7 separate regions of the Homo sapiens genome follow, and regions 1, 2, 3, 4, 5 and 6 are each linked to region 7. The links are contacts of gene promoters, found by promoter capture Hi-C in blood cells and fetal thymus (Javierre and others, 2016). All regions are on one chromosome and are shown on one strand. The core of a region is centred on a gene start or on the middle of the fragment in contact, and the rest is flanking DNA. Distances in the headings are between cores, read along the strand shown.

The links. Contacts are between HindIII fragments. The CHiCAGO score rates a contact against its expected background, and 5 or more counts as called.
Region 1: a fragment that was not itself captured here is called in contact with the fragment with the promoter of ZNF625-ZNF20 in region 7 in 10 of 17 cell types (monocytes, non-activated CD4 T cells, erythroblasts and 7 more); the score reaches 11.8 in monocytes.
Region 2: a fragment that was not itself captured here is called in contact with the fragment with the promoter of ZNF625-ZNF20 in region 7 in 4 of 17 cell types (fetal thymus, total B cells, total CD8 T cells and 1 more); the score reaches 6.7 in fetal thymus.
Region 3: a contact is called between a fragment that was not itself captured here and the fragment with the promoter of ZNF625-ZNF20 in region 7, in 1 of 17 cell types (erythroblasts). The highest score is 5.8, in erythroblasts.
Region 4: a contact is called between the fragment with the promoter of ZNF564 here and the fragment with the promoter of ZNF625-ZNF20 in region 7, in 3 of 17 cell types (monocytes, neutrophils and erythroblasts). The highest score is 7.0, in monocytes.
Region 5: a contact is called between a fragment that was not itself captured here and the fragment with the promoter of ZNF625-ZNF20 in region 7, in 5 of 17 cell types (erythroblasts, M0 macrophages, total CD4 T cells and 2 more). The highest score is 10.7, in erythroblasts.
Region 6: a contact is called between a fragment that was not itself captured here and the fragment with the promoter of ZNF625-ZNF20 in region 7, in 1 of 17 cell types (monocytes). The highest score is 5.1, in monocytes.

What each region holds. Positions count from the first base shown.
Region 1 is chr19:11,793,230-11,797,219 of GRCh38, reverse strand. No RefSeq gene overlaps it. Among named protein-coding and RNA genes, the nearest start is that of ZNF491, 3.3 kb to the left of the region's middle. The HindIII fragment of the contact is 3,535 bases long and covers 1-3,494 here.
Region 2 is chr19:11,776,847-11,780,940 of GRCh38, reverse strand. ZNF441 (zinc finger protein 441) reads right to left here. Exons shown (of 4, transcript NM_152355.3): 2 at 3,204-3,330; 3 at 2,548-2,611; 4 at 1-922. LOC124904639 (a long non-coding RNA gene) reads left to right here and starts at 3,304. Exons shown (of 2, transcript XR_007067141.1): 1 at 3,304-3,447; 2 at 3,616-3,766. The HindIII fragment of the contact is 4,273 bases long and covers 592-4,094 here.
Region 3 is chr19:12,498,214-12,501,867 of GRCh38, reverse strand. No RefSeq gene overlaps it. Among named protein-coding and RNA genes, the nearest start is that of ZNF709, 15 kb to the right of the region's middle. The HindIII fragment of the contact is 4,354 bases long and covers 1-3,654 here.
Region 4 is chr19:12,549,458-12,553,242 of GRCh38, reverse strand. ZNF564 (zinc finger protein 564) reads left to right here and starts at 1,761. Exons shown (of 4, transcript NM_144976.4): 1 at 1,761-1,913. The coding sequence starts at 1,911. LINC02926 (long intergenic non-protein coding RNA 2926) reads right to left here and starts at 1,517. Exons shown (of 2, transcript NR_187485.1): 1 at 374-1,517. RefSeq lists enhancers at 1-208, 209-710, 1,494-1,788, 1,854-1,963, 2,622-3,124 and a silencer at 2,194-2,273. The HindIII fragment of the contact is 25,081 bases long and covers 754-3,785 here.
Region 5 is chr19:12,525,146-12,528,984 of GRCh38, reverse strand. It overlaps ZNF564 (zinc finger protein 564), which reads left to right. Exons shown (of 4, transcript NM_144976.4): 2 at 289-415; 3 at 621-681; 4 at 1,069-3,612. The coding sequence ends at 2,539. Among named protein-coding and RNA genes, the nearest start is that of ZNF564, 24 kb to the left of the region's middle. The HindIII fragment of the contact is 920 bases long and covers 1,577-2,496 here.
Region 6 is chr19:11,701,379-11,704,975 of GRCh38, reverse strand. No RefSeq gene overlaps it. Among named protein-coding and RNA genes, the nearest start is that of ZNF823, 36 kb to the left of the region's middle. The HindIII fragment of the contact is 3,499 bases long and covers 1-3,067 here.
Region 7 is chr19:12,154,840-12,158,385 of GRCh38, reverse strand. ZNF625-ZNF20 (ZNF625-ZNF20 readthrough (NMD candidate)) reads left to right here and starts at 1,655. Exons shown (of 8, transcript NR_037802.1): 1 at 1,655-1,830. It overlaps ZNF625 (zinc finger protein 625), which reads left to right and starts at 1,652. Exons shown (of 4, transcript NM_145233.4): 1 at 1,652-1,830. The coding sequence starts at 1,828. RefSeq lists enhancers at 1,626-1,735, 1,298-1,989 and a silencer at 1,966-2,135. The HindIII fragment of the contact is 6,672 bases long and covers 1-3,546 here.

The DNA.
Region 1 (3,990 bases), core at 478-2,977, 360 kb after region 7:
GTGATAGTTGTATCAGATAAAATAGACTTTAAATAAAAAACAGTACAAAAAGACAAAGAAGATCATGAGATACTGATAACAGAATCAATTCAGCAAGATAATATAGTAATACTAAATATATATGCATCCAACATTGGAGAGGCCAAATTAATAAAGCAAATATTTCTAGACCTAAAGAAAGATATAGATAGCAATACAATAATAGTATGGGACTTCAGCACCTCACACACAGTAGTAGATATATCATCAAGACAGACAATCAACAAAAAAATTGGACTTAAGTTGGACTTTGGACCAAATGGAGCTAACAGACGTTTACAGAACCCAACAACTGCAGAATATACATTCTTCTCATCAGTACGTGAAACATTCTCCAAGGTAGACCATATGTTAGGCCACAAAACTAGTCTCGACAAATTTTAAAGTCAAAATCATTTCAAGCATCTTCTCAGACTGCTGAATAAAACTAAAAATCAATACCAAGAGGAACTTTGAAAACTGTATAAATACATGGAAATTAAACAATGTGCTCCTGAATGATCTCTGAGTCAAAGAAGAAATAAAAACAGAAAATAAAAATTTTGTTTGAAATGAACAAAAATGGCAACACAACATATCAAAACCTCTGGGATATAGGAAAAGTCATGCTAAGAGGGAAGTTTATAGAATTATATGCCTCTGTCAAAAAAGTAACAAATTAACAACCTAACATGGTACCCCATGGAACTAGGAAAACAAGAACAAAACAAATCCAAAGTTGGCAGAAAAGAAATAACAAAGATCAGAGCAGAATTAAACAAAATCAAGACTAAAAAACAACACAAATGATAAACGAAACAAAAAGTTGGTTCTTTGAAAATATCAACAAAAGTAATAAACTGCTGGCTAGACTAACCAAGAAAAAAAAGAAGATTCAAATGAACAAAACCAGAATTGAAAAAGAAGACATTACACCAATACCACAGAAATACCATCAGAGACTACTATGAACAACTATATGCTCACAACCTAGAAAACCTATAGGTTTTTTTGAAACGTATAACCTCCCAGGATTGAACCAAGAAGAAACAGATATCCTGAATAGACCAATAATAAGTAGCAATATTGAATCAGCAATAAAAAAATTCCCAAAAATGAAAGCTCTGGGCCAGACAGATTTATACCAAAATTGTACCAAATAGGCCAGATGTGGTGGCTCATGCCTGTAATCATAGCACTGTGGAGCCTGAGACAGGAGGATTGCTTGAGGCCAGGAGTTTGAGACCACCCTGGCCAACATAACAAGATCCCATCTCTAAGTAAAAAAATAAAAATTTAAAAATCAACATTAAAAAAATTATACCAAACATACAAAAAGAACTATACTAATAATCCTGAAACTGTCCCTAAAAATCACAGACAAGGGAAATCTCCCTAACTCATTCTATGAGGCCAGTAACATCCTAATACCAAAAACAGACAAGGACACAACAACAAAACTACAGACCAATATCCCCGATGAACACGGATGTGAAAATCCCCAACAAAACACTAGCAAACTGAATCCAACCGCACATTAAAAAGATAATACAGCATGATAAAGTAGGTTTTATACCAGGAATGCAAAAATGGTCCAACACACACAAGTTAATATATGTAACACATCACAAAAACAGAATGAAGAATAAAAACCATATGATCATCTCAATAGATTTAGAAAACACACTTGATAAAATTCAGCATCCTTCATGATAAAAGCTCAAAAAACTAGGTACAGAATGAACATATCTCAAAATAATAAAAGCCACACATGATAAACACACAGCCAACATCATACTGAATGGGGAAATAGTTGAATGATAAAAACTAGAACAAGATTAAGGATGCCTACTTTCACCACTCTTATTCAACCCTAGTATAGGAAGTCTTGGCCAGAGCAATCAGGCAAGAGAAAGAAATAAAAGACATGCAAATTGGAAAAGAGGAAGTCAAATTATTCCTGTTCAGTGATATATAATCTTACATCTAGAAACGCTTAAGACTCCACCAAAAATCTCTTAGATTAGTTAAATTAATTCAGGAGTTTCAGGATACAAAGTCAGTGTACAAAAGTCAGCAGTGTTTCTATACAGCAACAACAATCTAGCTGAGAACCAAATCGAGAAAGCAATACCACTTACGAGAGCTACCAAATAACACCCCACCCCACATGGGAATATATTGCACCAAGGAGGTGAAAGGCCTCTACAAAAAGAAAAAATCTATAAAACACTGATTAAAGAATTACAGATGACACAAACAAATGGAAAAAACATTTCATGCTTATGGAAAGAACTAATATCAGAAGAATTAATTTCATTAATTATTCAGAAAGAATTAATATCATTAAAATGACTATACTTCCCAAAGCAATCTACAGAGTCAATGCAATTCTTATCAAAATACCAATGTTAGTTTTCACATAATTAGGAAAAACAATCCTAAAATTCATATAGAACCAAAAAAGTGCCCGAATAACCAAAGCAATCCTAAACAAAAAGAACAAAGTTGGAGGCAATGTTACAGGACAGGGGTCCCAATCCAGACCCCAAGAGAGGGTTTTCGAATTTCCTGCAAGAAAGAGTTCAAGGCAAGTCTGCAGTGCAAAGTAAAAGCAAGTTTATTAAGAAAGTAAAGTGGTGAAAGAACAGCTACTCCCCAGAAAGAGTTGGATGTTTCTGTAAGTAAGAGGAGGAACGCATCCACCCTAGGTACAATGATGCTTGTATATATGGGCAGATGTGCTCTGCTATAAGGGTCCATGATAAAGGATTAATTTTCTTAATTACTATATTTTGCAAGAATTGATATTATTATCTTTAAAGCAAAATTAGAAATGCCTTTGTTCTCCAGATATTGGGATATCTGGACACTACCAAGTCTGGGTCTTGGTAAACATTATTAATTTGTTCCTTTAACTGTAAACACCTAGAAGCGAGGTATGCCTAACTTTCTGGGAATGAAGCCCAGCAATTCCCAGCCTCACTTTCCTAGCCCTCAGAATGGAGTCGCTCTGGTTCGAATGCCTCTGACAGCAACACATTACCTAACTTCAAGTTATACTACAAGGCTATTGCAATCAAATCAGCATGTTACTGGTATAAAAATATACACAGAAATAAATGAAACAGAATAGAGAACCTAGAACAAAATCCACATATTTACATCCAACTGGTTTTTTACAAAGTCAACAAGAACATACATTGGGGTAAGGACACCCTTTTCAATAAACAGTGCTGGGAACACTGGATTGCCATACGGAGAAGAATGAAGCTGGACCCTGATCTCTCTCCATATACAAAAATCAATTCAAAATGTACTTAAATGTAAATCCCAAAACTATAAAAATACTAGAAGGAAATCTAAGGAATTCTCTTCTGGACATTGGTCTAGGCAAAAAATGCCGGATTAAGACCTCAAAAGCACAGGCAACAATAACAAAATAGACAAATGTGACTTAAGTAAATGGAAAAGCTTCTGCACAGCAAAATAAATAATCAATAAAGTGAACAAATAACCCGAAGAATGGGAGAAATTAATTGCAAACTATATATTAACAAAACACTAATATCCAGAATATACAAGGAACTCAAACAACTCAACAACAACAAAAACAACCCCATTAAGAAGTGGTAAAGGCTGGACATGGTGGCTCACATCTGTAATCCCAGCACTTTGAGACGCCGAGGTAGGCGGATCACCTGAGGTCAGGAGTTTGAGACCAGTCTGGCCAACATGGTGAAACCCCATCTCTACCTAAAATACAAAAATCAGCCGGGTGTGGTGGCAGGTGCCTGTAATCCCAGCTACTCAAGAGGCTGAGGCAGGAGAATCACTTGAACCTGGGAGGTAGAGGTTGCAGTGAGCTGAGATCATGCCACTGCACTCCAGCCTGGGTGAGAGACTCTGTCTCAAAAAAAATAAAAAAAAAAAGTAAAAAGTGGTCTAAGGACATAAATAGACATTTTTCCT
Region 2 (4,094 bases), core at 1,479-3,978, 380 kb after region 7:
GGCTTTCCCACATACCTTGCATTTATGAGGTCCATCTCCAGTGTGCGTTATCATGTGTCTTCGAAAACCTGTGCAATCAGAGAATGCTTTCCCACAATACTTACATTCATACGGTTTCTCTCCAGTGTGAGTTCTTTTATGTCTTCGAACTGAACTGGGAGAAAGAAAGCCTTTTCCACATATCTTACATTTATGAGGCCCATCTCCAGTGTGCACTATCATGTGTCTTTGAAAGCTTCCAAGATGATAAAATGCTTTCCCACATTGCTTACATTCATAGGATTGTTCTCCAGTGTGAGTCCTTTCATATAGTTGAGTGTAACAGGAACAACTGAAGGCTTTCCCACATTGTTTACATTGATAGGGTTTCTCTCCACTGTGTGTTCTTTCATGTCTTAGAGTGGAACTATAAGCAGGAAACGCTGTAGAACACTGCTCATATTCATATGGTTTCTCTTCAGTGTGAGTTCTTCTAAGCATATGAAATAAACTAGGCCAAATAAAGGCGTTTCCACACAACTTACATATACGAGGTCCATCTCCATGGTGTGCTGCCATGTGTCTTTGAAGGTTTTCAAGAGAACTGAAGCTTGCACATTCCTTACAATCATAGAGTTTCTTTCCATGCTGAGGTCTTTCATGTATTTGAAAGCAGGGCTGATAACTGAAAGCTGTCCCACATTGTGTATGTGTATATGGCTTCTCTCCATATTCTTGATACTCACATGGTTTGTGTTCACTGTCAACTCTAACGTAGCAATTAAGAGATGAACGACCCATGAGGACGTCTGTACACTCACTGCTTTCCCATGGATCTACTCCAGGTATTTTCTCGTTCACAATACTGTCTTGAGTCTGGGTAAAGGGTCCTCCACATTGACTATTATCTTTAATTTCACAGGCTCTCTCTACCATATGACATCTGTAAAAAATAAGAAGTACATTAGTAAAGGTTTGTTTATAAATGATTTTGTATTAATAAGTATTGGATTTACATTTCTTTTCTTTCTTTCTTTTCTTTTTTTTTTCTGAGACAGGTTCTCGCTCTGTTGCCCAGGCTGGAGTGTAGTGGTGTGATCTCAGCTCACTGCAACCTCCACCTCCCGGACTCAAACCATCCTCCCACCCCAGCCTCTCAAATAGCTGGGTCTACAGGCATAAGCCACCACACATGGCTGATTTTTTTTTTTTTTTGAGACGGAGTCTCGCTCTGTTGCCCAGGCTGGAGTGCAGTGGCGCAATCTCGGCTCACTGCAAGCTCTACCTCCCCCGGGTTCACACCATTCTCCTGCCTCAGCCTCCCAAGTAGCTGGGACCACAGGCGCCTGCCACCACACCTGGCTAATTTTTTGTATTTTTAGTAGAGACGGGGTTTCACCATGTTAGCCAGGATGGTCTCGATCTCCTGACCTCGTGATCTGCCCACCTCAGCCTCCCAAAATGCTGAGATTAGATTTTTGTATTTTTTATAGAGACGAGGTTTCACCATGTTGCCCAGGCTAGTCTTGAACTCCTGAGCTCAAGCAATCTGCCCACCTTGACCTCTTGTAGTGCTGGGATTACAAGGGTGAGCCACCATACCCAGCCTTTCTTTTTCTTTTTCTTTTTTTTTTTTTTTTTTTGAAACTGGGTTTTGCTCTGTTGCCCAGGCTGGAGTATAGTAATGTGAACAGGGCTTACTGCGGCTTTGACCTCCTGGGCTCAAGCAACCTTCCTGTCTCAGCCTCCCAAGTAACTGAAACCACAAGCACAGGCCACCATGCCTAGCTAATTTTTGTATTTTTTGTAGAAAGGGCGTCTTGCCACGTTGCCCAGGCTGATTGAACACCTGGGCTCAAGCAGTCTTCCTGCCTCAGCTTCCCAAATAGTTGGGATTACAGGTGTGAGCTATCGCACCTGGCCTGGATTTACATTTCTAACATTATCATGCAAAGTGTAGGTCTCATGCCCTCTTTGAACATGAATGGACAGAATGATGTACAAGGTAACTCAACCCCAGCTGTTTTGAAGATAGTGACATTCATATGGGAATTCTTAATACTGTTTCCAAGGGAACTATTTTGCAGGCACTGAATAGCCATAGCCATGTCACATTTAAGTATATGTTTTTGAAGAAAATTTTCTAAGAATAAATAAATTTAAGGTGGGCTTGTTAATTTTCCTTGCTTCTTTTTAAAATTTTGGGCTGGTCACAGTGGCTCATGCCTGCAATACCTGCCTTTTGAGAGGCCAAGGCAGGAGGAACGCTTAAGGACAGGAGCTGGAGATGAGTCTGGTCAAACACAGCAAGACTCTATCTCTACAAAAACTAAATATGTAGCCACATGTGGTGGTGCATGCCTGTAACCCTAGCTACTCAGGAGGTTGAAATGGGAGGACCATTGAGCACAGGAGTCCGAGGCTACAGCGAGCTATGATCATACCACTGTACTCCAGCCTGAGCAACAAAGTGAGACACTGTCTCTAAAACAAACAAAATAAAATAAAATTTCTGGCATACTATGAATCACTTCAAGGACACAGCTTTCTCTTGTGAGTGCAAATTACCTTAGATTTCTTCTGAGATCTTTGTACTGATCTTCTTCTATATCATGATTTTGCCATATCATTCCTAAAAGTTAGAACCAGAAAAATGACTATAAATTATTATAAAATTATAGAAAGACTGTAAGATTTTATGTACACTACAATCATGCATGATTCACACACCAAACTACAGCTGAGTCTTCAACACAGGTTTGAACTGCACAGGTCTACTTACATATGAATTTCTTCAGTCTCTGCTACTCTTGAGACAGCAAGACCAACCCCTCCTCTTATTCAGTCTACTCAATGTAAAGACAATCAGAATGAAAACTTTGTAATGTTGTATTTTCTATGAATACTAAATAATGTTCCACTTACCTATGGTTTCCTAATGAATATTTTCCTTTTCTAGCTTACTTTCCTGTGAGAATATATAGCATGTAATACATATGACATATAATACATGTATTAATCAACTGTTTATGTTACCAGTAATGCTGCCAGTAAACAGTAGGCTACTAGTGGTTAAGTTGTGCGGGAGAAGATGTATGACTGCTTGGGTGGCTGGTTCAAGGGCCAATTATATACCCTTCCATATTTCAAATAATTGAACAGCATTGATGACCAAGAAACAAATGTCTCTAATTGACTAAGTGAAGACATGATGACATCCTTACCTATACAGTCCAGGTTTCTGATGGTTTCCTGCATCACATCTCTGTAGAGACTCTTCTGTGATGGACCCAGCAAAGCCCACTCCTCACAGGTGAAGTTTATAGCCACATCCTCAAATGCCACTGAGTCCTGAAATATTTCACATGTGCAGAGGAGGAATATTAAAACTGAAGGCACTGGGAATGTAAATTCACTTCATAACCTTCACATGATGCTGTGGTTTCCAAGCATTTATTCAAGAACATGGTAAACCCACTCTTATTCTCTCTTTACACTCATTTTATCCCACACAATTCTGATCCTAGAAATGAACATGTTTTGTAAAGTAACAGTTGAATAGGAACACGCCTCTTGTTGGTAAGTTAAGAAAGTGAGTCTTATTGCCTGAATCACTCCTCATTTCTATTTCTACAGTGGGTCTGCAGTTCTTGTCATGACAAAGTCCTACTACCTATTGTGCAAAAGAGAGTTACCAGCAAGAAGGCTCTCACCAGATGCCCAGCCTTGATGCTGGGCTTCCCACCCTCCAGAAGTGTAAAAAATAAATATCATTTCTTATAAATTACCCAGGTTAAAGTATTCTGTTATAAGCAACAAAAAACAGACTAAGCCATGAAAAAAACACTCTGAGGCCAGGCACAGTGGCACACACCTGTAATCCCAGCACTTTGGAAGGCCGCGGCAGGCAGATCACCTGAGGTCAGGAGTTCGAGACCAGCCTGACCAACAGGGAGAAACACTGTCTCTACTAAAAATACAAAAAATTAGCCCGGTATGGTGGTTCATGCTTGTAATCCCAGCTACTCAGGAGGCTGCGGCAGGAGAATTGCTTGAACCCGGGAGGCGAAGGTTGCGGTGAGCCGAGATTGCGCCATTGCACTCCAGCCTGGGCA
Region 3 (3,654 bases), core at 694-3,193, 340 kb before region 7:
TGAGAACAGCCTGGGCAACACAGTGAGACCCCATCTCCACAAAGAAAGTAAAAATTAACTGGGCATGGTGGCATGCACCTGTAGTCCCAGCTACTCAGGAGGCTGAGGTAGGAGGATAGCTTGAGCCCAGGAGTTCAAGGCTGCAATAAGCTATAATATGACTGTGCCACTGCACTCCAGCCTGGTTAACAGAGTGAGACCCTGTCTTGAAAGAACAAAAACAATAAAAACTGAATTCCCAGCCATGGGAAGGGAGGTCGGACACACCCTGTTATAACCCCTCCCTTTTGGAGTTTAGGCACAACTGACCAGCATTAATGTTAAAATAGAGACCATAAAACTAACAAAACTCTTTATGACAATAAGATACCAAATTATAAATAAGACCTAAGGCCATGCTCTCCAAGGGTTAAGTCACAAACTCTAGGTCATTCCGACCCAGTGTATTGGTTAACAGATTTTCTTATCTTTTTTTTTTTTTTTTTGAGACAGGGTCTCTTGCTTTGTCACCCAGGCTGGAGTACAGTGACATAATCACTGCTCACCACAGCTTGGACCTCCCAGGCTCAAGTGATCCATGTAGTGGGGAATATAGGCATATGCTGCCACACCCAGCTAATCGTTTTTACTTTTTTTTTTTTTTTTTTTTTTTGAGATGGAGTCTCACTCTGTCGCCCAGGCTAGAGTGCAGTGGTGCAGTCTTGGCTCACTGCAAGCTCCACCTCCCAGGTTTACGCCATTCTCCTGCCTCAGCCTCCTGCGTAGCTGGGACTACAGGCGCCCGCCACCACGTCCAGCTAATTTTTTGTATTTTTAGTAGAGACGGGGTTTCACCGTGTTAGCCAGGATGGTCTCGATCTCCTGACCTCATGATCCGCCCTCCTCGGCCTCCCAACGTGCTGGGATTACAGGCGTGAGCTGCTGCGCCCGACCTCATTTTTACTTTTTTTTTTAGATGGAGTCTCGTTCTGTCACCCAGGCTGGAGTGCAGTGGCGCAATCTCAGCTTACTGCAACCTCCACCTCCCGGGCTCAAGGGATTCTTCTGCCTCAGCCTCCCAAATAGTTGGGACCACAGGCACACACACCACACCTAGCTAATTTTTGTATTTTTAGTAGAGACAGGGTTTCACCATGTTGGCCAGGATGGTCTTGAACTCCTGGCCTCAAGTAATCCACCTGCCTTGGGCTCCCAGAGTGTTGGGATTACAGGCATAAGCCACTGTCCCCAGCCTAATGCAATCTGTGTGCCACAGCCTCCCAAAGTGCTGGGATTATAGGCTCCTGAGCCCAGCTGTCTTCCTTAAACATTCCTTTTTTTTTTTTGAGACAAAGTTTCGCTCTTATTGCCCAGGCTGGAGTGCGATGGCATGATCTCACCACAACCTCCGCCTCCCAGGTTCAAGTGATTCTCCTGCCTCAGCTTCCCGAGTAGCTGGGATTACAGGCGCCACCACCACGCTTGGCTAATTTTATATTTTTAGTAGAGACAGGGTTTCTCCATGTTGGCCAGGCTGGTCTCGAACTCCTGACCTCAGGTGATCCACCCGCCTCGGCCTCCCATAGTGCTGCGATTACAGGCATAAGCCACCGCGCCCGGCCCAAACATTCATTCTTATCTAATGACTCCAAATGTTTACTCCTTTAGCCAACTGTAAATCAAAGAACCTCTGAGTCTACCTATAACCTGTAAGCCCCCGCTTCAAGATATTCTACCTTTTCAGGCCAAATCAATGCCTACCTTCCATGTACTGATTTATGTCTGCCTGCAACTCCTGTCTTTCTAAAATGCATAAAACCAAACTGTAGCTGGGTGCTGTGGCTCGTGCCTGTAATCCCAGCACTTTGGAAGGCTGAGGCCAGCAGATCACTTGAGGCCAGGAGTTCAAGACCAGCCTGGCCAACAGGGCAAAACCCCATCTCTACTAAAAATACAAAAAATTTAGCCAGGCATGGTGACGCAGGCCTGTAATCCCAGCTACTTAGGAGGCTGAGGCACAACAATTGCTTGAACCTGGGAGGCTGAGGTTGCAGTGAGCTGAGATTGTGCCACTGCACTCCAGCCTGGGCGACAGAGTGAGACCCTGTCTCAAAAATACCAAATAACTGTAACCTGGCTGCCACTGGTGCACTTTCTCAGGACTTCTTGAGACTGCGTTTTCTGGGCCGTGGTCACTCATACTGACTCAGAATAAAGCCTTAAAATATTTGAGAGTTTGGTGATTCCATTGACAGTGGGCAGCTGTTAGAAAGAAGAGGGGGGTTGACACTGAATCTGCCAACAGTCAAATACCAGAAAGGGTGGAGTCCAACTACTCATTACAAGAGCAAACATGGATAAGAAAAACATGCATTTGCAATTGCTTGTTTTTGTTGTTGTTGTTGTGTGAGACGGAGTTTCACTCTTGTTGCCCAGGCTGGAGTGCAATAGCGTAATCTCAGCTTACCACAACCTCAGTCTCCTGGGTTCTAGTGATTCTCCTGCCTCAGCCTCCCGAGTAGCTGGGACTACAGGCGCCCGCCTCCTGAGTAGCTGGGACTACAGGCACCCGCCACCACGCTCAGCTAATTTTGTATTTTTAGTAGAGACAAGGGTTCTCCATGTTGGTCAGGCTGGTCTCGAACTCCAGACCTCAGGTAATCCGCCTGCCTCGGCCTCCCAAAGTGCTGGGAATACAGGTGTGAGCCACCGCGCCTGGCCTGCAATTGCTTGTTTTAATAAAGAAACACTAATAGGATGCACAAGGAATTACCAAAAGTTTTTACGAAGGGCGGGGTGGCTGGAGCAAGAATCCTGGAATGAACCAGGATATGCTTGACAGTGAGTCTTATGTTAGATTTTCCTGTCTCATAGATTTTTTTTTTTAACCTTCACATGTATTATCTCTCTAAAATGAATGGAGGCCTGGTGCAGTGGCTCACACTTGTAATCCCAGCACTTTGGGAGGCCGAGCTAGGAGGATCACTTGAACTCAAGAGTTCAAGACCAGCCCGGGCAACCCTGCCGGTTGGTGAAACCCTGCCTCTACAAAAAATACAAAAATTAGCCAGGCATGGTGGTATGTGCCTGTAGTTCCAGCTACTCAGGAGGCTGAGTTGGGAGGATCACTTGAGCAGGGGAGGCTGAGGCTGCAGTGAGCTATGATCGATCGTGCCACTGTACTCCATCCTGGGTGACAGAGCAAGACCCTGTCTAAAAATATACATTAAAAAGGCCGGGCACGGTGGCTCACGCCTGTAATCCCAGCACTTTGGGAGGCCGAGGCAGGCAGATCACCTGAGGTCAGGAGTTCGAGACCAGCCTGACCAACATGGAGAAACCCCATCTCTACTAAAAATACAAAAAGATTAGCTGGGCATGGTGGCACATGCCTGTAATCCCAGCTACTCGGGAGGCTGAGGCAGGAGAATCACTTGAACCTGGGAGGTGGAGGTTGCTGTGAGCCAAGATTGTGCCATTGCACTCCAGCCTGGGCAACAAGAGTAAAACTCCGTCTCAAAAAAAATAAAAAATAAAAAAATAAAATGAACGAAGATATTTATCTGCACTATATTTTACTATTAAAGTCTTTAAATAATGTAGTTTTTTTTAAATTTTAAGTTGTCTTCATTAAGATTTAATCCTTTATACACTTTTAAAAGTGTAAACTATACG
Region 4 (3,785 bases), core at 512-3,011, 390 kb before region 7:
AGTCTCACTGTTTTGGCACCCAGGCTGGAGTGCAGTGGCGCAGTCTGGGCTTACTGCAACCTCTGCCTCCCGGGTTCAAGCGGTTCTCCTGCCTCAGCCTCCCGAGTGGCTGGGATTACAGGCACGCGCCACCACGCCCGGCTAATTTTTGTATTTTTACTATAGACGAGGTTTCACCATTTGGCCAGGCTGGTCTCGAACTCCTGACCTCAGGTGATCCGCCCGCCTGGGCCTCTCAAAGTGCTGGCGTGAGCCACCGCGCCTGGCCAGGAATGTGGATTCTGAGAAGCTGCAGAGCTGTGAAAAGCAGGAGACCCATGTGCAGATGTGGTTGGGTTGGGGGTGGAGGGTTCTGTCTTTTCTGAGGTTGTACCTTTGGCGCCTGGGGCCATTTCCTGGACAGTGTTTTGGTTTTAGCATTCATGGGGTCGCTGAGTCAGGCTGTAATTTGTATACATGAAGAAAATCTGTGAGGGTCAGACTCAGTGAAAAACTTGTTTGCATTGTCCCCTGGAGAAAAGGTTTGGGAACATGACAATTTATTTAGGTCACGACTTTACATTGACTCCGGGTGAGAGTTTCCTGCTGGTACAAATGAAGGTTTTGAAGGAAAGAGTGTTTCCACACTGTGAGGAGAGGACTGGAGGGCACCTTGAGCTCCCAAAGTTGAATTCTTAAGTGTCCCTGTCTCATCACCAGGTTCTGATCCACACTGGGGTTCCATTTCAGCAGTTAGAGTCTGGGTCCCAAGCTTGGGATTATTTTATTTTATATTTCATTTCTTCATTTCATTATTTCATTTCATTTCATATTTCATTTTTTAGTCTCGCTCTGTCGCCCAGGCTGGAGTGCAATGGCGCTATCTCGGCTCACTGCAACTTCCCCCTCCCAGGTTCAAGCGATTCTCGTACCTCAGCTTCCCGAGTTGCTGGGATTACAGGCACCTGCCACCACGCCTGGCTAATTTTTGTATTTTTAGTAGAGATGGGGTTTCACCATGTTGGTTAGGCTGGTCTTGAACTCCTGACCTTAAGCAATTTTCTCACCTTGGCCTTCCAAAGTTCTGGGATTACAGGCGTGAGCCACCGCGCCCGGCGCTTGGGAATATTTTTAACGTTATGATTGTGGGTTTTCCTTGTGAACTGCGGGTGAAGCAGGCTGCTTGTCTGAGCTAGTTCAAATGTTTGCTTACTTCTCTTGGTTTCTTTATAGATGATCGCTGTCATAAAAACTCCAGTTTTTCCTATACATTTAATACTTTTATTTCTTTGTCCGTTTTAATTTTCTTGCCTGAAAGAAGCAAGCCCTCCTCCCTCCTGTTACACTGTGGTCTGGCCTGGCCTGGGCGCGCCTCCTACTCCGAGGCCAGGGGATGGCTCCACTGGACGCCGAGTCTGTCATTCCCTGTGCACACTTGTGACTCTGTGTCCGGGAGGAAAAGGCAGGAAGGGCACCCTGAGTGCAGAAACACGCCAGTGTCACCTCTGCAGAGCCTGAAACACTTTCTGCTTAAATGCAAATATCCTCCCCGGCACAGAAGGTTACAGAAGGAGGAAGCCCGGCCCGCGAAGGGCAGTGGCCAAGACCCTGTCAATCTGTCTTTACTCAGCCACATACCGCATTGCTTCTCCTGTCACTCAGTACCAAGGGGGCAGGACTTGAATCATCACCCAATCAGGGGCACTGGGGCGGGAACCTGCAAACCATCCAATCAGGAACTCTGCAAGGGGGACAGGGGCAATGTTCAACAACTCCGCGGGGTCTTCCTGTTTCGTGTCCGCTGCGTTTGGGTTCCGGTCTCCGCTTCTCCAGTGGCCCCGGTGGCTCCACCGCAGCGTCTGGCGCGCTGGGACCTGCACAGGCCGGAGAGAGCCGTAGGCAGGACCCCGGGACACCCTGGAAGCCAGGAAATGGTGCGTGTGCGGGGCCGGGCGCCTGGAGACTGGGGGAGGGGCTTGTGGGAACCGGCCGGAACCGGCTGTGGAAGCACCCTGGCCTCCCTGCAGCGACTCCAGGGTCTGGGACCCGAGTTCCCTGGCGCAGCTCGGCCCTCTGTCCCCTCGGCCGCAGGGTGGGTTGGGCCGTAGCCAGTACCCCAGGCGTCCTGTCCCGTCCCTGCGCGGCGACTGCGGCCTCGGCCTCGGAGCCCTGTCTGGGCAGCTCCGCGCCCGCAGCCCCGCCTCTCTCCAGATTGTTTGTACTGGGACACGGGAGGGTCATAAGGCGGAATCCCGTCTCGGGTGTGCGGTTCGTGCATGGGAAGAGCTGTGGGCTGTGGCCTTCCCAGTACATCGTCTTTTTTTCCGGGGGACTGGTCTTCCTCCGAGTCTTCCAAACGTACTGGAAAAAGAATCTCAAACCTACGACTCCCGTTTTTTTTAGCCTAGCTTTTTCTGGGGCTGGAAATAAATGCCTAAATTTCCGGTTCCTTCCCCGCATTCCCAAAGGTGACCTCCCCTCGCCAAATCAACATTATCAGCTGTTTTTTGTTTGACATTTAAGACACAGTATTTTAGTTGTTTATAGTTTCTTTCACCATACTCTTTTGAAAGGATTTGTTTTCTGTTTGTTGTTTTTTTTTTCTTTTCAGACAGAGTTTCGCTCTGTCGCCCAGGCTGGAGTGCAGTGGGAAGATCTCAGCTCACTGCAACCTTCGCCTTCCGGGTTCAAGCAATTCTCCTGCCTCAGCCTCCTGAGTAACTGGGATTACAGGCATGCGCCGCCACGACCGGCTACTTTTTGTATTTTTGGTAGAAACTGGGTTTCTCCATGTTGGCCAGGTTGGTCTCAAACTCCAGACCTCAGGTGATCCGCTCACCTCCGCCTCCCAAAATGCTGGTATTACAGACGTGAGCCACCGCGCCCGGCCTCTTGTTTGTGTACTTGTAACCTGAGAGGGAAACGGAGAATAAGAACCTGACACTCTACGGTAAAATTTTTTTTTTTTTTTGAGACAGAGTTTCGCTCTTATTGCCCAGGCTGGAGTGCAATGGCGCGATCTCAGCTCACTGCAACCTCCACCTCCTGGGTTCAAGCGATTCTCCTGCCTCAGCCTCCCGTGTAACTGGGATTACAGGCATGCGCCACCATGCCCGGCTAATTTTGTATTTTTAGTAGAGACAGGGTTTCTCCATGTTGGCCAGGCTGGTCTCGAACTCCCGACCTCAGGTGATCCGCCTGCCTCGGCCTCCCAAAGTGCTGGGATTACAGGCGTGAGCCACCGCGCCCGGCCGTGGTAAAAAAATTTTTGTGCTTCCCCTCCTTTTATCTTTCCTAAGCCCCGACGCCTAATCAGAATGTCTTTGGGTGGAGTTTCCCCTTTGGAAACTTTACAAGGTGATGTGGCCCTCTATCTTTTCCTGGTCCTGATTTTCAGAACTGCCTGGGCCTGACCCAGGATACCCACAGCTGCCACTTCTCTTGGAGGATCTAGTGATTATCAACCCCTGGGTCACTCCTCCCAGAGGACAGCTTAAGGTGTAGGGGTGGGGCCTCTCACGGGAGCAGCTGTATGCCCTGAGGTGGGAGGAGTCTCCCGGTATCCCCTTCCTCTGAAAAGTTTACCCTTTGGGACGCTCAGCTTTTCTTCCTCAACCCCAGTTTCCGTTCCTTAGGGACACATTGATGGTTACCCAATCTTAGGCTGTTACTGAGAGGAAAAGACACAAATGATTCCTGACCTCTGGATTGTTTTTAGTCTAGTGAAGGGAGGAAAACTATCTCAAAGGAGAAGGAAAACCTGCCCCATTGAAATGGTGCGAGAACCTGAAAGTTAAAATGCGCTT
Region 5 (3,839 bases), core at 787-3,286, 370 kb before region 7:
TAAGCGATTCCCCTGCCTCAGCCTCCTGAGTAGCCGGGATTAACAGGCATACGCCACCACGCCCAGCTAATTCATATATCTGTAGTAGAGATGGGGTTTCACCATGTTGACCGGGCTGGCCTCAAGTTCCTGACCTCAGGTGATCTGTATGCCTTGGCCTCCCAAAGTGCTGGGATTACAGGCATGAGCCACCACACCTAGCCATTTGTGAACTTTTATGAATTGGGTTTACATCCCTGTACTGTCATCTCATTCTTCCTCCTGCATTGCATATTTGGGATGTTTTAGGACTCAGTGGCCTCTGAGGATGTGGCTGTGAACTTCACACTTGAGGAGTGGGCTTTGCTGGATCCTTCCCAGAAGAAACTCTACAGAGATGTGATGCGGGAAACCTTTAGAAACCTGGCCTGTGTAGGTAAGGATGACATCATTCCTTCTTTTAGTCAGTTAGAGAAGAAGTATTTCTTGCTTTTTAATGCTTTTTCATGATGTCTAATGTGGAAAAGGGAATACTTGGGTGAATAAATCAGGGTTGTTTGCACCTTATCATGAACTTAGAATCTAGTCATTTTTCTGTAATGTCTATCAGTTCATAAGGATTTTTTCTGACTATATTTTAGGAAAAAAATGGGAAGACCAGAGCATTGAAGATTGGTACAAAAATCAGGGGAGAATTTTAAGGTAATTTGCACTGACAAGATAAAGCAATGTCTCCTTCTTAGTATGTCATGAAATTTTAAAAATAAGTAAACAAACCAGTAAGCCCAGCTTCAGATTTATTTATTCCTACAACTTTTTCACCAGAAAAAGAAAAAGTGGCATAGATGTTCAGTGTTGCAAAATCATTCACTTGGAAATAGTATTAAGAAACTGTATATATGGATATCACTTTTTTGGTGATAGCTACTGTCAAGCTCTCTTGCAGAGCATTCCATCCATTCACTTTCAAACAATTCATACAGGCCTGAAAACTTACCCTTTCCGCGATTATGGTAAAAATGTAAGTCGAATACCTATTAATAAATATAAAGTCACAAACCACTAAATCTTGCTTTCTATTTTTTCCAGAAATCATATGGAAGAGGGACTCAGTGAAAGTAAAGAATATGATCAATGTGGAGAAGCCTTCAGTCAGATTCTCAATCTTAATCTGAACAAGAAAATTCCTACTATAGTAAGACCATGTGAATGTAGTTTGTGTGGGAAAGTCTTCATGCATCATTCATCCCTTAGTAGGCACATCAGATCTCACCTTGGACACAAACCATATGACTATCAGGAATATGGAGAGAAACCATATAAATGTAAGCAGTGTGGGAAAGCCTTCAGTTCTTGTCAATCCTTTCGAAGACATGAAAGAACTCACACTGGTGAGAAACCCTATGCATGTCCGGAATGTGGGAAAGCCTTCATTTCTCTCCCAAGTGTTCGAAGACACATGATTAAGCACACTGGAGATGGACCATATAAATGTCAGGAATGTGGGAAAGCCTTTGATCGCCCAAGTTTATTTCAGATACATGAAAGAACTCACACTGGAGAGAAACCCTATGAATGTCAGGAATGTGCAAAAGCTTTCATTTCTCTTCCAAGTTTTCAAAGACACATGATTAGGCACACTGGAGATGGACCTTATAAATGTCAGGAATGTGGAAAAGCCTTTGACCGCCCCAGTTTATTTCGAATACATGAAAGAACTCATACTGGAGAGAAACCCCATGAATGTAAACAGTGTGGGAAGGCCTTCATTTCTTTCACAAATTTTCAAAGTCATATGATTAGGCACACTGGGGATGGACCTTATAAATGTAAAGTATGTGGGAGAGCCTTTATTTTTCCCAGTTATGTTCGAAAGCATGAAAGAACTCATACTGGGGAGAAACCCTATGAATGTAATAAATGTGGTAAAACCTTCAGTTCTTCCAGTAATGTTCGAACACATGAAAGGACTCACACTGGAGAGAAGCCCTATGAATGTAAGGAATGCGGGAAAGCCTTCATTTCTCTCCCAAGTGTCCGAAGACACATGATAAAGCACACTGGAGATGGACCTTATAAATGTCAGGTATGTGGTAGAGCCTTTGACTGTCCCAGTTCATTTCAAATACACGAAAGAACTCACACTGGAGAGAAACCCTATGAATGTCAGGTATGTGGGAAAGCCTTCATTTCTCTTAAAAGGATTAGAAAACATATGATACTGCACACTGGAGATGGACCTTATAAATGTCAGGTATGTGGTAAAGCCTTTGACTGTCCTAGTTCTGTCCGAACACATGAAAGAACTCATACTGGAGAAAAACCCTATGAATGTAAAGAATGTGGGAAAGCATTCAATTATGCCAGTTCCATTAGAATACATGAAAGAACTCATACCGGAGAAAAACCCTATGAATGTAAGCAATGTGGAAAAACGTTCAGTTATTCCAGTTCCTTTCAAAGACATGAAAGAGCTCATAATGGAGATAAACCTTACGTAAAGAATGTGGGAAAGCTTTCATTTATCACACAACCTTCGAATACCTGTGAAAATGAATAGTGGAGGACAGGTCTACAAGTATCTACATATCTAAAGAATATGGAAAGTCTTCAGTTTGCTTTCTGGGTTTCAGACTTGTTTGGGAGCTCACCCCTTTCTCCTGTTTCTCACTTTTGGAATAGGAATCTCTATCCTGTGCCTGTCTCATATTTTGGAAATACATGACTAGTTTGGTTTTCACCGGTTCGGAGCTGAAGAAGAATTTTGCCTCAGCATGAATTGAGTCTCATCCATATCTGAGTGATGTGATATTGAGATGACACTTTGGAGTTTGAGTTTAAACATTAGGCTTCATGCTGGAATTAACTGAGACTTTTGAGGCCTTTGGGATGAGATGAATATATTTTACATGTGATGACATGGATTTTGGGGGCCAGAGGTGTAATGTTTTGGCTGAGTGTATGCCACCTCAGATTCATATGTTGAAACCTTACCCCCGTGCCCCCCCTCTCCCCCACAATGTGATGGTATTTGGAGGCCCTGTCTCTGGTGGTTTTTAGGATTGGAGGACATCATGAAGATGGAGGCCTTGTAATTGGGATTAGTTTCCTGATAGGAATCCCTAGAGAGCTAGCTTTGCCCTTCACCATGAGAGGGTGCAGTGAGAAGATAGCTATCTTTGAACCGGGAAGCAGGCCCTTACCAGACATGGACTATGCCAGTGCCTTGATATTGGACTTCCCAGCCTCCCAAACCATGAGAAATAAATGTTTGTTGATTAATTAAGCTTTCCAATTTATGGTATTTTGTTTTAGCAACCCAAGCTAAGACACAATCCAATTTTAAAATGGAGGAAAGGACTTGAATAGACATTTCTCCAAAGAAGATACCCAGATGGCCAATAAGCACGTAACAATGCTCGACATCTTTAGTCATTAGGGAAATACAAATCAAACTCAAGACATACATAGCATCTCATTAGGATTAGTAGTATCAAAGATGGAAAACAAGAAATACTGTCAAGGATGTGGAATGTTGGAGAACATTGTGCACTATCACTGGGAATGTACAGTGGTATAAGCCTGCTGAAAACAGTATGGCAGATCCCCAGATTAAAATATAGAAATAACATATGATCAGCATTTCCATTTCTGGGAAAATAAAAAGATTGAAAGCAGGGCCGGGCGTGGTGGATCACGCTTGTAATCCCAGCACTTTGGGAGGCCGAAGCAGGCGGATCACAAGGTCAGGAGATTGAGACCATCCTGGCTAACATGATGAAACCCCGTCTCTACTAAAAAAAAATTAGCCGGGCGTGGTGGCAGGCGCCTGTAGTCCCAACTGCTCGGGAGGCTGAGGC
Region 6 (3,597 bases), core at 69-2,568, 450 kb after region 7:
TCTGCCCTCGTGAATAGATTAATGGCATTATACAGGGTTTGATGAATGCAATTTGCCCTCTCTTGCCCTCCTGTCTTCCACCCTGTGAGAATGCAGCAATGCTGAAGCCAGATGCCAGTGTCTTCTTGGATTTCTAAGCCTTCTGAACTGTGAGAAAGTCAATTTCTATTCTTTATAAATTACCCAGTCTGTGGTATTCCACGATAGCAGCACAAATGGACTAAGACACTCTTTGTTTATGGCTCATTGATTTTCAACAAATGGGCCAAGATGCTTTCATAGGGAATGGGTTTTCAACAATGTGCTGGGAAAATGGGATATTGACCTGCAGAAAGATGAACTGAGAACCTTTCTCACATTATACACTAAAATTAACTCACATTGCCAGGCGCTGCGGCTCACGCCTGTAATCCCAGCACTTGGGGAAGCCGAAGTGAGCAGATCCCTTGAGGCCAGGAGTTCCAGACCAGCCTGGCCAACACAGTGAAACCCTGTCTCTACTAAAAATAGAAATAAATTAGCCGGGTGTGGTGACGCATGCCTGTAATCCCAGCTACTTGGGAGGCTGAGGCAGGAGAATTGCATGCCTGTAATCCCAGCTACTTTGGAGGTATGAGAATCACTTGAACCTAGGAGGCAGAGGTTGCAGTGAGCCGAGATCGTACCACTGCACTCCAGCCTGGACGACAGAGCAACACTGTGTCTCAAAATGAATAAATAGATAAAGTAATTCCTGATAAGAAAGGACTTGGTTTTGTCATTTTCCTATTTGTTTTCAATATGCCTTGTAGCTTTTTTCTTCTCATTTCATGCATTTCTGCATTATTTTGCTTTTAATTGCTTTTTGTAGTGAAACATTTAAATTTCTTTATTGTTTCCTTTTGTGTATACACTACTGCTCTGTTAATTACCATGGGGATTGCGTTTACCATCCTAAGGCCATAACATTCTAAATTTATGCCAATTTAACATAAATAGCATGCAAATACAATGCTCCATGGCATGCCTGTTCACACCCCTTTCAGTTTGGTGTCATAAATTTACATCTTTATACTTTATGTATTCAAAAACGCAAACATATTTTCGGTGCATTCGTTTCTTTCTTTCTTTTTTTTTTTTTTTGAGACGGAGTCTCTCTCTGTCTCCAGGCTGCAGTGCAGTGGTGCAATCTCGGCTCACTGCAACCTCCGCCTCCTGGGTTCAAGTGATTCTACTGCCTCAGCCTCCCAAGTAACTGAGATTACAGGCGTGCGCCACCACGCCCAACTAATTTTTGTATTTCTTTTTTTAGTAGAGATGGGATTTCTCCATGTTGGTAAGGATGGACTCAATCTCTTGACCTCGTGATCTGCCTGCCTCAGCCTCCCAAAGTGTTGGGATTGCAGGCGTGAGCCACCACGCCCAACCTAGTTTCTTTTTTATTAGTCTCTTAAACTGTGTAAAAAAACAAAATATAGAGTTCAAAAGCCAAGTCTAAAATGCTAGCTTTTAGACTAATAATTTTTAATGGATTTGTATCTTCAATTATGTAAAGACAAAAACTGGAGTTCACAATTATTGTACAATAATATTAGCATTTATAATTGTCCATGCATTTGTTTCTACTGAGATCTTTATTTGGGCTTACGCCTTCCAGATATTGTCCAGTGTTCTATTTCAACCTGTAGAAGGCTTTTGCGTTTCTCACAGGGTACATCTAATGGCAAAAACAAAAAGAACAAAACTACCTCAGTTTTTGTTCATGTGAGCATGCCTTAATTTCCTCCTCACTTTTGAAAGACAATGTTGCCAGATATTGGATTCTTGGCTGTCTTTGTTTCTGAGATGGAGTCTTGCCATGTTACCTAGGCTGGCCTTGAACTCTTGGGCCTTAACTGATCCTCCCACTTCAGACTCCGGAATAGCTGGGACTGCAGGGATGTGCCACCGTGGCCATTTTTTTTTAAGTACCTTGAATACATCAGCCCACTACCTCTGGCCTTCAGCGCTTCTGATGAGAAATCTGCTGATGATCTTATGAAAGATCATTTATATGTGATGATTCACTTCTTTCTTGCTGCCTTCAAGGTTCTCCCTTTATGTTTGGCTTTGACAATTTGAGTATAATATGTCTTCATGTCCTTCTCTTTGCATTCATCCTACCTGGAGTTCATTGAGCTTCTTGGATGACAGCATTCATTCATGGCTTTTATCTAATTTGGAATATTTGCAGCTATTATTTCTCCAAATAGTCTCCCCTGACCTTTCTCTGTCTCTTCTCCTTCTGAAACTCCCACAGTGCATATATTGGCCTGCCTGATGCTGTCTCACACGTCTCACCTGACTGCCACACCTATGTCTAGCTTATTACCAGGTCAGGGCTCTGTAGAGAGTGGGTATCTGGCTATCTTGGTAGAGATTAACTTGGCAGAGGTAGAACCATAAGGGCATCTGCCAGTATAATCAAGTTTCCTGTGAAGGACATTTGGTTATGGGTTAACACTTAAATATTAGACCCCATGAAAGTCACACTGTAAATATCCACAACCAAGTGTCCTGGAGCCCCGTCAATGCAGCACTAAAGTTCTTTTTGTTTGTTTTTGTTTTTGCTTTTTTTGAGACAGAGTCTCACTCAGTGGCCCAGGCTGGTGTGCAGTGGTGCAATCTCGGCTCACTGCAAGCTCTGCCTCCCGGGTTCACGCCATTCTCCTGCCTCAGCTTCCTGAGTAGCTGGGACTACAGGCGCCCGCCACCATGCCTGGCTAATTTTTTGTATTTTTTTTAGTAGAGACTGGGTTTCACCAGGTTAGCCAGGATGGTCTTGATCTCCTGACCTTGTGATCCGCCCGCCTCGGCCTCCCAAAGTGCTGGGATTACAGGCATGAGCTACCCCGCCTGGCCAGCACTAAAGTTTATAGCCACGCTTCTGAGAGAGATCCCGAGGCCAAATTAGAGGAAAACACTCCATGTGCAGCTGCCTGCAACAGGGGTAAGGGTGGGGATGATAGCTTGTATTGTGCTAAGTGATAAAATGACCACAATTAGCCATAGTTTACTGTCTAATCCTTTTTATGGAAGTTGCAAAGCTTCAATAGCCTCCACAGTTATAACATTGCTACATCAGATGATTCTGTCAGTCCAGTGGTTGTCTAGGTGGGGAGACAGCTTTTTTTTTTTTTTTAAGACAGAGTTTCGCTCTTGTTGCCCAGGCTGGAGTGCAATGGTGCGATCTCGGCTCACCGCAACCTCTGCCTCCCGGGTTCAAGCGATTCTCCTGCCTCAGCCTCCCAAGTAGCTGGGATTACAGGCATGCACCACCGCACCCGGCTAATTTTGTATTTTTAGTAGAGATGAGGTTTCTCCACATTGGTCAGGCTGGTCTCGAATTCCCGACCCCGGGTGATCTGCCCACCTCAGCCTCCCAAAGTGCTGGGATTATAGCTGTGAGCCACCACACCCGGCTGAGACAGCTTGGTTTTGTTTTTGTTTTTGTTTTTGCTTTTGTTTTTAGATGGAGTCTCGCTCTGTCGGCTGGAGTGCAGTGGTGCAATCTCTGCTCACTGCAACCTCTGACACCCGGGTTCAAGCGATTCTCCTGCCTCAGCCTCCCAAGTAGCT
Region 7 (3,546 bases), core at 406-2,905:
TTTAAGACCTTCATTTTCACCAACAGGAAGCTCTCGACTTGAGTCAGTTTAAGCTAAATTTACTGTTAAATTCATAAACCCGCAGGGCGCGGTGGCTCACGCCTGTAATCCCAGCACTTTGGGAAGCCGAGGCGGACGGATCACGAGGTCAGGAGATCGAGACAATCCTGGCTAACACGGTGAAACCCCGTCTCTACTAAAAATACAAAAAATTAGCCGGGCGTGGTGGCAGGCGCCTGTAGTCCCAGCTACTTGGGAGGTTGAGGCAGGAGAATGGCATGAACCCGGGCGGGAGGCGGAGCTTGCAGTGAGCCGAGATTGCGCCACTGCACTCCAGCCCGGACGACAGAGCGAGACTCCGTCTCAAAAAAAATGATAATAAATACAATAAAATAAAATAATAAATAAAAATTCATAAACCCTTTCTCCAGGAGGCATCCCAAATGGGTCTTGCTCTAATTCTGACCTTCACAGATTTTCTTTTTCTTTTTCTTTCTTTTTTTTTTTTGAGACAGTCTAGCCCTGTCGCCCAGGCTGGAGTGCAGTGGCGCAATCTCGGCTCACTGCAAGCTCCGCCTCCCGGGTTCACGCCATTCTCCTGCCTCAGCCTCCCGAGTAGCTGGGACTATAGGCGCCCGCCACCGCACCCGACTAATTTTTTGTATTTTTAGTAGAGACGGGGCTTCTCCGTGTTAGCCAGGATGGTCTTGATTTCCTGACCTCGTGATCCGCCCGCGTCGGCCTCCCAAAGTGCTGGGATTATAGGCGTGAGCCACCGCTCCCGGCCGTAAAGATTTTTAAATAATAAAAACAGGGGTCTAGGGTGGGGGGATGTGGGAGGGATAACATTAGGAGATATACCTAATGTAAATGACGAGTTAATGGGTACAGCACACCAACATGGCGCATGTATACATATGTAACAAACCTGCACATTGTGCGCATGTACCCTAGAACTTAAAGTTTAATAAATAAAAATTAAAAAAAAAAAACAACAAAACAGGGGTATTCTTGTGTTGACCAAGTTGGTCTTTAACTCTTTACTTTAAGGGATCCTCCAGTCTTGGCCTCCCAAAGTGCTAGGATTACAGGCGTGAACCACCGCACCCTGCCTGTGTTCAGGTCACAATCTCTTCTAGCTTGGATAAAGGGAAAGAAATAAAGGGGGAGAGGGCATGGTTTCATCAATGGAGATTCTCTGCAGATGCAAATTCCCCCCCTCCAAAGACAGCTTTGCCAGTCCACTTTTTTTTGCGGCCGAGCCACAGCCATTTCAAAATCTGTCAAATAAATATATTTTGGCGTAAAATATTTTAATTTCCTTCACCTCCACTGGACTCTGAGTCTGGAATTTCCTGTGCAAGACAAAGGAGCAGGGACAGCCCATTGAGTGAGGAAGACAACGGTACCCCCTCTAGCAATTCGGAGCAAATTTGGCTGAAATGCAAATACCCAAAGAGCAAGACGCAGGGAGGGAGCTCGCTTAGATAATCTGTGGTTGGAACAGGTCATTTCGGTTCTGCCGGGCCTTGTTACCCAGGGCTTCCGCTGTCACTCAGGACCGATGGGACGGGGACTGGAGCCTCATCCAATCAGGGGCGCTGGGGCGGGGTCCTGCCAACTGTCCATCCGGGGAAGGGGAGGCCGCATTCCCGCTTTCCTGACTCCCAGGCGTCTTGCACCAAAGGGAGGTCGGGATCTCGGTTTTCCGGCCCCGAGAGGGACCAGGTGCCTCCGCCATAGCTTCTGTCGCTCCATCGCCCGCACTGTGACTGGACTGTTAGAGGGATCCGTGGAGAGGAGGCCAGGACACCTGGAAGCCGGGAAATGGTGAGTGTGCGGGGCCGGGGGTCCCGAGACGGGGGAGGGGCCGGGAGGAACCGGCTCGAACCGGCTCTAGCAGGACCCAGGCCTTCCTGCAGCGACTTCGGGTCTGCAGAGCGGAGTCCCCCTGGCGTAGCTCGGCCCTCGGTCCCTTCGGCCGCAGGGTGGGGTTGGGCCGGCAGCCGGGACCCCAGGCGTCCTGTCCCGTCTCTGCGCTGCGACTGCGACCCCGGCCCTGGCCCCGGCCCCGGAGCCCTCTCTGGGGAGCTCCGCGCCCGTAGTCCCGCGTCTCCCCAGATTGTGCGGAGACCACGGGAGGGTCATGGAGGCAATCCTGCCTCGGGTGTGTGGTTCGTGTGGGAGGAGCGGTGGGCTGCGGGGTCCCCAGTCCCCCCTTTTTTCCTGAAAAACTAAATTGAAGGCCAGGCGCAGTGGGTCACGCCTGGCAGGTTGAGGCGGGGGGATTGCTTCAGCCCAGAAATTCGAGACCAGCCTAGGCAACATACCGAGACCCTAGTTTCTATTAAAAATAAATTTTTAAAAAATGAGCCGGGCGTGGTGCCGCCCACCTGTAATCCCAGCTACTGGGGGGCTGAGGTGGGAGGATCGCTTGAGGGAGGAGATTGGGACTGCAGTGAGCCGAGATCGCGCCACTGCACTCCAGCCTGGGCGACTGAGCGAGACCCTGTCTCAAACAAAACAAAACAAAAACAACAGCAACAAACTAAACTGAGTCCTCTTAAAAATTAAAGAGTTTTGCTTCTCAGAATAGGAGTTTGAAAAAAATGAATGAGAAATGTTTCCTGAATGAGAAACACCCAGTCATGGCTTGCAGTTTGATAACGGAAAGAGCAAAACTCTGCAAAATAACTTGAACTATGTTCTACGCCGAATATGAGAGAACGTGACCAAGGGAAACAACCGCATGTAGCCTCGAGTAAGTGGTCCCCAGGAGGTTCGATGGCAGTTTGGTTTTATTCATTTCAGCGAGACAGGAATTGCAGGGAAAAGATCAATCAAGGCATGGAAGGCTGACAGGGCAGGACACGTAGAAGCGGGGCTTAGAAGGCACAGGTGGTTGAGGGATTCTGTAGTTGGCAGTTGGCTGAGAGTGTGAAGTTGTGTCTAAAATTTGAAAGGGGTAGGAAGGAATGTTTAAGTGAAGGGAGTCTGTTACCTGCCACGTGATTCCATCCCCACCAAAAAACAGATATGTTTCACTAGATTTTATGAATTCTAAGGCGTGACTTTACCCTTGCCTTGCATGGCCTTAGGTCTTGTTTGCAATTTAGTATTTATTGGTACAAAGGGTTTCTTTGCAGGTTTTTTTTTTTTTTTGAGATGGAGCCTCACTCTCGCCCAGGCTGGAGTGCAGTGGCGCAATCTCGGCTTACGGCAACCTCCGCCTCCTAGGTTCAAGCAATTCTCCTGCCTCAGCCTCCCAAGTAGCTGGAATTACAGGTGCACGCCACCATACCCGGCTAATTTCTGTATTTTTAGTAGAGATGGGGTTTCACCATGTTGGCCAAGCTGGTCTCAAACTCCTGACCTCAAATAATCCGCCTGCCTCCGCCTCCCTCCGCCTCCCAAAGTGCTAGGATTACAGGACTGAGCCACTGTGCCCGGCCTCTTTGCAGGTCTTATGTCTATTTTAATATGAATGTGGGTCAGTTGCTGTGTCTAAACTCCAGAAGGGAGTATGGAGTGTCTGATCTCCCTTAC